3 separate regions of the Homo sapiens genome follow, and regions 1 and 3 are each linked to region 2. The links are contacts of gene promoters, found by promoter capture Hi-C in blood cells and fetal thymus (Javierre and others, 2016). All regions are on one chromosome and are shown on one strand. The core of a region is centred on a gene start or on the middle of the fragment in contact, and the rest is flanking DNA. Distances in the headings are between cores, read along the strand shown. Region 1 overlaps ARHGAP19 (Rho GTPase activating protein 19). Region 2 holds the start of ANKRD2 (ankyrin repeat domain 2). Region 3 overlaps ARHGAP19 (Rho GTPase activating protein 19).

Region 1 (3,511 bases), core at 328-2,827, 340 kb after region 2:
GCTTTTCTTTTAAAAATTACTTTGTTATTAAGATATATAATTCCAGCAACACAGGGAGCTCTTTGCTTAAAATTTAAAATTTTTGCCCTAAAAATAAATAACTTGTAATATTTATTTATTTATTTATTTTTGAGACAGGGTCTTGCTCTGCTGCTCAGGCTGAAGTACAAGTGGCACCATCATGGCTTATTGCAGCCTTGATCTCCTGGGCGCTCAGCGATCCTCCTACTTCAGCCTCCCAAGTAGCTGGGACCACAAGTGCATGCCATCATACCTGGCTGATTTTTAAATGTTTGTAGAGATGGGGTCTTGCTGTGTTGCTGGTCTTTTTTTTTTGAGACAGTCTCGCTCTATGCCTCAGGCTGGAGTGCAGTGGCGTGATCTCAGCTCACTGCAACCTCCATCTCCAGGGTTCAAGTGATTCTTCCACCTCAGCCTCCCTAGTAGCTGGGATTACAGGCGCCCACCACCATGCCCGGCTAATTTTTTGTATTTTTAGTAGAGATGGGGTTTCACCATGTTGGCCAGCCTGGTCTTGAACTCCTGGCCTCAAGTAATCTGCCCGCTTCGGCCTCCCAAAGTGCTGAGATTATAGGCGTGAGCCACCATGCCCAGCCTGTGTTGCTGGTCTTGAATTTCTGGGCTCAAGTGATCCTCCTGCTTTGGCCCCCTGAAGTGCTGGGATTACAGATGTGAGCCACTGTGTCTGTAATTTTTTTTTTTTGAGGTACAGCTGTTAGCATTTACAAATTCATCTTACTGTAATTTTGGTCCTAGTTATAATTTATAGATATCTAGAATTCACTCTCAATCCTGACCTCCTGGGGCCAGTAGCTTCTAGGACATTAGGCTTACTTGACATCAAAATTTCCTTTGCCATCTACAGAGTGAAAAGGCAACCCTGGATTGGGAGAAAATATTTGCAAATCATATTTATGATTAGGGATTAATATCCATAATAATCTAAAGAACTCCTATAACTCAACACAGCAAAAACAACCTCATTAAAGAGTGGGCAGAGGCCGCGCACAGTGGCTCACGCCTGTAATCCCAGTACTTTGGGAGGCTGAGGTGGGCGGATCACGAGGTCAGGAGATTAAGACCATTCTGGCTAACACGGTGAAACTCCATCTCTATTAAAAATACAAAAAATTAGCCGGGCATGTTGGCATGTGCCTGTAGTCCCAGCTACTCAGGAGGCTGAGGCAGGAGAATCGTTTGAACCCAGGAGGCAGAGGTTGCAGTGAGCCGAGATTGAGCCACTGTACTCCAGCCTGGGTGACAGAGCGAGACTCTGTCTCAAAAAAAAAAAAAAAAAAAAAAAAAAATAGTGAGCAAAGGACTTAAATAGAAATTTCTCCAGAGAAGATGTACAGATGGCCAAGAAACACATGAAAAGATGTTCAACATCACTAATCATTAGGGAAATGTAAATCAAAACCACAATTAGATACCACTTCACACCCACTAGGATGACTATTATTAAAAAAAAAAAAAAAAAAACAACGGAAAATAACAAATGTTGATGAGGATGTGGAGAATTTGGAACCCCTATGCATTATTGATAGGGATGTAAAATGGAGGAGCCACTGTGGAAAACAGTATGGCAGTTCCTAAAAAATTTAAATAGAATGACCTTGTGATCCAGCAATGCTACTCCCGGTATATAACCAAAAGAATTGAAAGCAGGGTCTTGAGGCAATATTTGTACACCCGTATTCATAGCAGCATTATTCACAAAAGCCAAAAGGCAGAAGCAACCCAACTGTCTATTGACTGATGAATGGATGACAAACCTTGGATATACAGATAATGGAACATTATTTGTCCTTAAAAAGGAAAGAAATTCTGACATATCCTACAACATGCGTGAATCTTGAAGATATTATGCTAAGAGAAATAATCCAGTCATAAAAGGAAAAATACTGTATGATTCCACTGAGGTACCTGTGAGTCAAGTTCAGAGACAGAAAGTAGAGAAGGTGGTTGGTTGTCAGGGGAGCTAAGAGTATGAGGAGAATGGGGAGATATTATTTAATGGGTACAGTATTTCTGTTTGGGAGGATGAGAAAGTTCTGAAGATAGATGATGGTGATGGTTGCACAACACTATTAATATACTTAATACCATTGAACTGTATACTTAAAAATGGTTAAAATAGTAAATTTTATGTTATGTTCATTTTATCATTGTTTAAAAAAAATCCCTTAGCTAGAATCCTAAAAGTGCATTTACCTGCTTAGACAGGGCTAGTAAAACGAACATCGTTAGTTTACTCTTGTTTTTTTCTTCTCATTTGGAAGAATCTGTCATTCCCTCTGACTTCCCTGTCATAGAGATGATTGAGAATCAGAAAAGTTATAGTCAGATAAATGTTCCTCTATGTGTTAGTCTTTTTTTTTTTTTTTTTTTTTTTTTTTTTTGGTGAGACAAGAGTCTCACTAGGTGTGCAGGCTGGAGTGCAGTGGCATGATCTCAGCTCACTGCAACTTCCACTTCCTGGGTTCAAGTGATTCTCATGCCTCGGCCTCCCGAGTAGCTGGGATTACAGGCATGCACCACCACGCCCAGTTAATTTTAGTAGAGACAGTATTTCACCATGTTGGCCAGGCTGGTCTCAAACTCCTGGCCTCCAGCGATTCACCCGCCTCAGCGTCCCAAAGTGCTGAGATTACAGGCGTGAGCCACCGCTCCCGGCCTAAAATATTATTTTTGTGTTTTCCCTCAGCCTTATCAAGGTATAATTGACCATCTAGCCTGTCTGGATCCCTTTTTTGGCTAGAGTTTTTTCCTCCAGAACTCCTCTCATGTAAATTATTTATTAAATCAGAATGTTCTGAATATTGCTGCTCATATTTATAATGCAGGGTTTAATGTTCTAGTTTTGATATGTTCTTTTTTTAGAATTCAAATTTATTCTCTAAGGGAAAAAAAAATTTCTCCAAAGATGGTAGAATTGTCACTGTTGGCGGTTACCTAAACTACATCATCTTCTAAGCTGTTCAGAGATGAAAGGGCTTTTAGTCTTGCTCTGAATGTCAGTACAGTCATGTGACCCCCTTAAGAAGGCCTCTACCTTCTTGTGGCTATATTAGGAACTCTTATAGAATGTCTCCAAATGTTCCAGTCCTGTGTGAGTAAATGACAGGGAGGAAGAAGTGCCTTAGAGAAGAGCCAGCCTAAGTATCCCTCAGTGGTAAGTAGGGGGGAGGGACTTTTTAAATAGTTGCCAGAGACAGCACATCTTTGGGGAAAAAAATTATATGATGAGTAACTGGTGTTTCTATATTGTGAGTAACTGGTCTCAGAGGCACACTGTAATTGACCTATATTAGCTTGTTTAAATCAACTATAAAGTTGCTTCTAACCTTTCAGCCCTTTTAAATGTGGAGGAAAAGTGATCACTTAAACAAAAGTAATGATTTTGGGTTTTTTTGGTAACATGCTTTGGCCTCTCTTGTATAAGATGGCCTGAGAGGGTCCATACAGGATTATCAGAATGCTGAGATTT
Region 2 (3,767 bases), core at 1,245-3,744:
TGGGGCACAGGCTAGACAGAGGTTCTCCTCCAAGAACCCTGCCAGGCTGGGGCCTGGTAGAGACAACTGGGGACTCTAATGCTCACCCACATCTTCCTCAGACCCTACAGCCCTTCATTTCAGGTTTGTCTTTGTGGGCTGGCACACAGTAGGTGCTCAGTAGCTGTTTGCTGCATTGAATGTGAGTTCATGAAACACACAAAGCTCCCACTTTACGTCATAGATTGCTATGCAGATTAAATGGGAGAATGCCTGTAAAATGCTTAGCACAGGGCCTGGCACTGGTGTCCTGACAGCTCTGTAGCTATATTTATTGGATGAATGAACGGAAGACACTGCTCTGCGTCCCCTTGCTGAAGGTCTGTGTGTCTATTGGCAGCACTCCAGAACTGGCATAGCAGCATGACTCACCTGCCTGGCACCAGCCAACCATAGGCACATGCCCTTGGGGGAGGGAGAAGTGGGATTCCTAGAGATCCAGGGATGCTTGCCCCAGCCAGGGCTCATTCCAAGCTCTTTCCTGACCTCATCCCTTCTTCCCTTGGGGTCTTGACCCTTCCTTCCTCCTCACCCCTCATTCAGTCACACTCCTTTTTTTGAATGGCATCTACCTCCAACCTGATTTATCTCCTCCCCTCCATTCCTGCTAGGGCCAGCCTTTTCCAACAAGTCCTTCTCAGGGCCATCAGAGCTGCTTTCCTAAAATAGGTCAGATGACACCAATCTCCCTCACTCAATAACATTTAGTGGCTCCTCACTGCCCACAGAATAAATATCTTTTACATGGCCCTCTCTGGCTTGTGTCTTTCCAGCCTTAGCCCCTACTACCAGACTTTATCAAGACAGCCACGCTTTCACTCATGGAAACTTCAGCTCCTGCATTTCCTGAGGCTGGAATACCCTCCACCATCCTGGACTCCACTGAGTCCCCTTGAAGGCCCAGCTCAGGTATCCTCCTGTCCACAGAGGAGTCCCCTTTTTTTTTTTTTTGAGACGGAGTCTCCCTCTGTCACCCAGGCTGAAGTGCAGTGGTGCGATCTCGGCTTACTGCAACCTCCGCCTCCCAGGTTCAAGCAATTCTCCTGCCTCAGCCTCCTGAGTAGCTGGGATTACAGGTGCCTGACACCATTCCTGGCTAATTGTATTTTTAGTAGAGACAGGATTTCACCATGTTGGCCAGGTGAGTCTCGAACTCTTGACTTCAAGTGATCTGCCCACCTCGGATCTCAGATCTCAAAATGCTGGGATTACAGGCTTGAGCCACTGCACCTGGCCCTGTCCACAGAGGAGTCCTTGAAGGCCCTCAGAACAATTCATGAGCCCCTTGTGTTCCTCCACTTCTGATTCACACCTCTATTTAGTCATTTCTTCCCTTTGCCTTGTTTCTTAGTTGACTATGAAACCAACAAATGGGCTAAAATGAATCCTGGGTTGGTAAAAAGAAGGCAGGGTCTGACCCTTATTGGTCCACCCATTTCTACAGCTCTGGGCTCTTGGCAGAGCCAACACTAGATGAAGTATTAGTTTAAATAAAGTGAAGAGTAGGGGCCGGGCATGGTGGCTCATACCTGTAATCCCAGTACTTTGGGAGGCCAAGGTGGGTGGATCATCTGAGGCCAGGAGTTTGAGACCAGCCTGACCAACAGAGTGAAACCCCATCTCTACTAAAAATACAAAAATTAGCCAGGCATGGTGGTGCATGCCTGTAATCCCAGCTACTCGGGAGGCTGAGGCAGGAGAATCGCTTGAACCCAGGAGGCGGAGGTTGCAGTGAGTCAAGATCATGCATTGCACTCCAGCCTGGGCAACAGAGGGAGACCCCGTCTCAAAAAAAAAAATGCAGAATAGGACAAGCCAGCACCCCCTGCCACCGCTCCACTTCCTTATCCCAGAGAAAATGCAATTGCCCAGAACACCACACGCCAAAGGACTCCCCAAGGGTGGCCAGCAGGCTGGCAAAATCCATGCTTCATTTCCCAGCATCCCTTCCTCACTCTCTTCTTCACTGGCCAAATACTGGAGTTTCCCCTGCCCCAGCCTCCCACTCAGTCACTGGGGCATCACAGGGCCACACATTCCTGAAAGTCCCAGGCAGCACCCAGCTGTCTGCTTTGTACAGCCCACTGTCTCTCAAGGCCCAGGAGGGTGAGCAGTCTTAGGAAGCCCAGCCCAGCTCCCCATCTCACTGACTTAATTTTGAAGGCTGAAGCCTCAGTCTTCTGCTGCCAGCAATACCCCCTGCCAGTAATACCCTGGGACAGGAATGAGGCCCAACTGGGCCCCTGGGGACATCTGCCCCCCTCCCCACCACAGGTGTAGCAGACAGGATCTCCCTCCCCTTGACAGCAGAACTGGATCTCCTCAGACCCCCTTGGGCACCTCCACCCCTGCTCGCACCTCATTCTCCTCCTCCTGTGCCAGCCGCTGCTCGATGAGCGCTGTGGCCCTCTGCACCGCCTCGGAGTCCTCCATGGTGCCGTCCATAACCGCCTCTGCAGGCCACAGGGCCTCGGGGGCTTTATAGGCCAGAGCACCCACCCCTGCCCAGCTGGGCGCCTTTGCCATGAGCTCACTGGCCCAATTCTCCACCTGCCTCCCCCACCTGTCACCTTCACCTCGGGCAGCCCCAGGGAGCAGGGGGAGCCAGGGCCAGGGAGCAGAGCCAGTTGCCCCCCCAACTCCTGGCCTATTAGAGCCGGAGGGCACTGTGTCCCAAGAGCAGGGGTGCAGGAAGGAGCCCGTCCAGCCTCTGTCCTGAGCACTTGGGACTGGTTGGGCCTTAGCCAAGGCAACTGAGTTGCAAAAGGGAACTGCTGGCTGCATGCTCCAGCCCAGATGACAGTGCCACCTGCTGGATGCCTGGAAACCCTGCTCAGCCAGCTCCAGGAAGAGGGCCTGAAAACCAAACGGGGGACCCAGGACAGTTCTGTACTCCCAGGCTGTCCTGCAGACAGGCCCTGCTGGCTGTGAGGAGGGTCACACTCTACTTGTCCAGGCCAGGGCCGTGGTAGCAGGAAGGGCAGCTGTCTCCCTCTCTGATCACAGCTCACGCTGGCCTTCGGCTCTCCGGGGTCCCACATGCTTCCCCGTTAAGCATCACTGCATTTGGCTGGGTGACTTTTAGTCATGAACAAACCTTATCCAATCTGTCTCCTCTCTTGGTAAGTGCTCAGGGGACCTCTGCAGGGCTTACAGAGTCTTGCTTCAAGAAAGGGGTCTCCGGAAAGCACTAAGCCCAGCTAGCGAGGAACAGCAGCTACTCTGGATCCTTCTACCCTCCCAGGGTTTCCCTGTCAGGCCCAGACAGTGCCAGACTTCCCTGGCCAGGAGGCTGCCCATGCTCACTAAGAAGGAAAAATACTCCCAAGTGGAGCAAAAGCAGATCTGTACTTGCTCAGTTCCACACCTGGAACTCGCATGCTGGAGCTCTGAGTCACTGTGACCCAGGTTAATCTGCTAGGGAACTGCAGACACCCAGCCCTGTGCTTCTGTAAGGCTCACCTGGCTGGTGGCTGCCCTTAGCTAAACAGCCTTATATAAGATTCCCTTCTCTTCAGATATGCATGCATTCCCCTAGGAAGCATGAGGAACCGGTTCCTTTTCCTTTCTGGTTCCCTTGCTGGGAAGCTGACACAAACCTCTGACACACGATCTAAATCTGTCAGAGATTTTGCTTTAACATCACGATGGCTACAGCGTCTCCAGGGCCGGAAGTTAGCCCCTCTTGCTGCAGGAGCAGACCACCTTCCTGAGGTGCTGTCTTCGCC
Region 3 (3,612 bases), core at 342-2,841, 310 kb after region 2:
TCCCAAAGCGCTGGGATTACAGGTGTGAGCCACCATGCCTGGCCTTCTGTTTGTTTGTTAAATTAAATACTAACACGCTAGATATCTCCTTACTTACTAGATATATGCTTCTTACTTGAATAAGAAGATGGTCTTTCCCTTCAGGGAACCTACAGTCTAATATTGAACTTAGAGAGAGCTGATTGAGAGTTGTCCTGCTCGCGTTTTCTGGTGCACTTCCAGTTCTAAGGTTTTTGTTTACTGACCATGTGAAAATGCTTGCTGAATTGTAAAATAGGATGCTTGAGTGGTTTTAGGTATGATGATTTTGTACTATTTGTGTGAAATATAGCCCTGTCATATCATATGGTTTTTCAGAAAAAGGAGTGATATTTGGGTCCCCACTGACGGAGGAAGGCATTGCCCAGATATACCAACTGATTGAGTATCTACACAAAAGTAAGACTACTTGAAATTTTATCATTCTTTGTTTAATGAAGAATTCTGTTTTCTGTTGAGAGCTAACTGCCTTGAGTTAGTAGGTGCCAATTAACCATCAACAAAGGAACTAACCAGTGTTAATTTTGGGTGGCATGTTTTTAAATATATTTCCTTTTAAACTTCATCTCATATATTCATTTGTTTTATACTCTCAAAGTGTATATAAATTAGACCGTGTCTATGAAGTCACATTTACCTCTTGCCTCAGAGAGACACTTCTGGAAAAATACATTGTCCCTAAAGAATTGTTGCATTTATTTAAGAGAGCATGGTACCTTTTTTCTCCAGAATTCTATGATTAAAACACACTCTTTACTTTTTTTTTTTTTTTGAGACAAGGTCTCGTTCTCTCACCCAGGCTGGGGTGCAGTGGTGTGATCTTGGCTCACTGCAGCCTTGACCTCCCGGGCTCAGGTGATTCTCCCACCTTGGCCTCCCTAGTAACTGGGATCACAAGCTTGCACCACCACACCCGGCTACTTTTTGTAGTTTTTTGTAGAGATGGGATTTTGCCATATTGCCTAGGCTTGTCTTGAACTACTGTGCTCAAGTGATTCATCCGCCTAGGCCTCCCAAAGTGCTGAGATTATAGGCGTGAGCCATTGAGCCTGGCCTAGGGACGAATAGTTTAGTTGGGATGACCCTAAAGCTTCTGGGAATCTCTTAGGAATTTGACACATTAGAGTTCTAATTCCTGGAGCAATGCAGAGACTCTGGATTCATTCTGGGCTGGGAAAACAGTTTACAAGAGCCACAAACATCCACAGATGTATGTAGCCCCTCCAAACGAAGTCTGGGATAAACAAGAAGAGGTCTTTAGGGAGATTTGGCTTTTTTAAAGTTTATTTTTCAAGCTATTCCTGACCATTGATTGGGTTAAATTCAGATTGTCTATCCATACCTCAGGAGGTTGAATGACTCCCAGGAGGACTACCTTTTAGTTTGGAAGATCTCCAAATGCTCAGGGACATTCAGATATGTCTCCTCAGGAGGTCAATAGGTTCTAAACTACCCTGGTGAAAAAAGGCAAAAACTTACTTGAAAGGCTTTGTGAAGGGTCTTTTAAGTGTAAAGTAGTCTTTAGACCATTTATTTTAATAATAATCTTTCTGCTTCCTTTTTGCCTGTCCTCTGCTTTGTTTTATGCTAAACAGACTTGCGAGTAGAGGGTTTGTTTAGAGTACCGGGTAATAGTGTCCGACAGCAGATTTTAAGGGATGCTCTCAATAATGGAACTGACATTGACTTGGAATCAGGGGAATTTCACTCAAATGATGTTGCCACTTTGCTGAAGATGTTTCTAGGAGAGTTGCCGGAGCCTCTGCTGACACATAAACACTTCAATGCACACCTCAAAATCGCTGGTGAGTATAGGAAGTAAGAAGGAGATGTAAATACATTTCTTTCAATTTAGTAAAGTTCCTAGGAAATTTCTGTTGCTTGTGACCCACAGAAATACTTCTATTAATATTGGTTAAGATTTCGTGATGTTGCTGGACTTCTCTGGGTACTCATAGGTATTGGCTAGTTAAGTTTAATTTTAATTGAATGGCTTTCTTGATAAATAAGCTTTGTATTGAGATAAGGAGCTGGTAGTAAGATGTCGTCTGAGTTTTATTTATTTTTGAATCTCTGATAGATCCTCGAGTAGTGTGTAGAACATTTTAGTTGGAGACATGATCTCACTCTGTCACTTAGGCTGGAGTGCAGTGGTGCAACCTTGGCTCACTGCAGCCTTGCTCTCCCGGGCTCAGGTGAGCCTCCCACCTCAGCCTCCCAAGTAGCTGGGACTATAGGTGTGCGGCACCACGCCTGGCAAATTTTTTTGTAATTTTTGTAGACATGGGGTTTCGCCGTGTTGCCCAGACTCAAACTCCTGGGCCAAAGCCATCTGCCCACCTTGGCCTCCTGAAGTGCTGGGATTATAGGCATGAGCCACTGTGCCCAACGTGTTTTAGTTGCTTAATAAATGTATGCTTTTCATTGGATTGATTCATATATTTCAGATGTTTATAGGTTCGGTATTTTTGCCTTGGTTTGGGGTTTTTGCTCAGTATTTCTATGCCTCGGTTGAGGGCATCTCTACTCTTGGAAATTTTATTTGTTTGTTTGTTTGTTTTGAGACTGAGTCTCGCTCTGTCACTAGGCTGGAGCGCAATGGTGCAATCTCGGCTCACTGCAACCTCCGCCTCCCGGGTTCAAGTGATTCTCCTGCCTCAGCCTCCCGAGTAGCTGGGACTACAGGCACGCGCTACCACGCCTAGCTAATTTTTGTATTTTTAGTAGAGACGGGATTTCACCATGTTGGCCAGGCTGGTCTCGAACTTCTGATCTTGTGATCGGCCTACCTTGGCCTCCCAAAGTGCTGGGATTACAGATGTGAGCCACTGTGCCCAGCCAAGGAAATTTATTTTTTTTAAAAATTATTATTTGTTTTCTGAATAGAAACACATAGTTCAAAATTCAGATGATTCAAATAATATACAGTAAAAACCTTCTCTCCTACACTTGTTCCCCAACACCCAGTTCACCCAGTCCCCAACACCAGTAACACTGGTTAGTGTTACTGATTTAAAAAAAAAAAAATTTTTTTTTTTTTTTTTTAAAAGAAAGCCTGTTCCCCAGGCTGGTCTCAAACTCCTGGCTTCAAGTGATCCTCCCTCCTCAGTCTCCCAAAGTGCTAGGATTGCAGGCATGAGCCGCAGCCCCCAGACCAGTGTTACTGATTTCTAAAGTATCCTTCCAGAGATATTTTGTGTACTTCCAAACAAATACATATATTCCTTTTCTCTGATTTTTATGTAATAGGTTACACACATGGTTCTGTGGTTTGCTTTTTTCACTTACTGTATCTTGGAGAGTGTTCCATTTTCAGCTCATAAATAGTTTCTTCATACTGCTTTATACCCATGTGGTAGGGAATTCATTCTTAAATTGCACGTCTGTTATGCTGCTATGGGCTCTAAGTGTTCACAGCATCAATATCCATTACTGCAGTTGCTTAGTTTCCTGCCCCTGAGTATTTTTCCTGTTTCTTCTAATTATATGGAAAAGAAATAGAAGATTTTTTCCTTTTGAATAATTTTTACTACTTAAAGAAACAAGTGTTGAATTTTAAAAATCTAATACGAT

What was found. Contacts are between HindIII fragments. The CHiCAGO score rates a contact against its expected background, and 5 or more counts as called.
Region 1: a fragment that was not itself captured here is called in contact with the fragment with the promoter of ANKRD2 in region 2 in 1 of 17 cell types (neutrophils); the score reaches 6.7 in neutrophils.
Region 3: a fragment that was not itself captured here is called in contact with the fragment with the promoter of ANKRD2 in region 2 in 1 of 17 cell types (neutrophils); the score reaches 6.1 in neutrophils.

Annotation. Positions count from the first base shown.
Region 1 is chr10:97,229,972-97,233,482 of GRCh38, reverse strand. All of the region lies in intron 9 of ARHGAP19 (Rho GTPase activating protein 19), which reads left to right. The region is part of intron 9 of ARHGAP19-SLIT1 (ARHGAP19-SLIT1 readthrough (NMD candidate)); the gene reads left to right. LOC105378447 (a long non-coding RNA gene) reads right to left here. Exons shown (of 3, transcript XR_946226.3): 3 at 2,245-2,327. Among named protein-coding and RNA genes, the nearest start is that of SLIT1, 46 kb to the right of the region's middle. The HindIII fragment of the contact is 6,324 bases long and covers 1-3,511 here.
Region 2 is chr10:97,571,506-97,575,272 of GRCh38, reverse strand. ANKRD2 (ankyrin repeat domain 2) reads right to left here and starts at 2,494. Exons shown (of 9, transcript NM_001346793.2): 1 at 2,398-2,494. The coding sequence starts at 2,484. RefSeq lists a silencer at 247-541. The HindIII fragment of the contact is 18,561 bases long and covers 1-3,767 here.
Region 3 is chr10:97,261,652-97,265,263 of GRCh38, reverse strand. ARHGAP19 (Rho GTPase activating protein 19) reads left to right here. Exons shown (of 12, transcript NM_032900.6): 3 at 358-438; 4 at 1,635-1,844. It overlaps ARHGAP19-SLIT1 (ARHGAP19-SLIT1 readthrough (NMD candidate)), which reads left to right. Exons shown (of 15, transcript NR_037909.1): 3 at 358-438; 4 at 1,635-1,844. Among named protein-coding and RNA genes, the nearest start is that of ARHGAP19, 29 kb to the left of the region's middle. The HindIII fragment of the contact is 920 bases long and covers 1,132-2,051 here.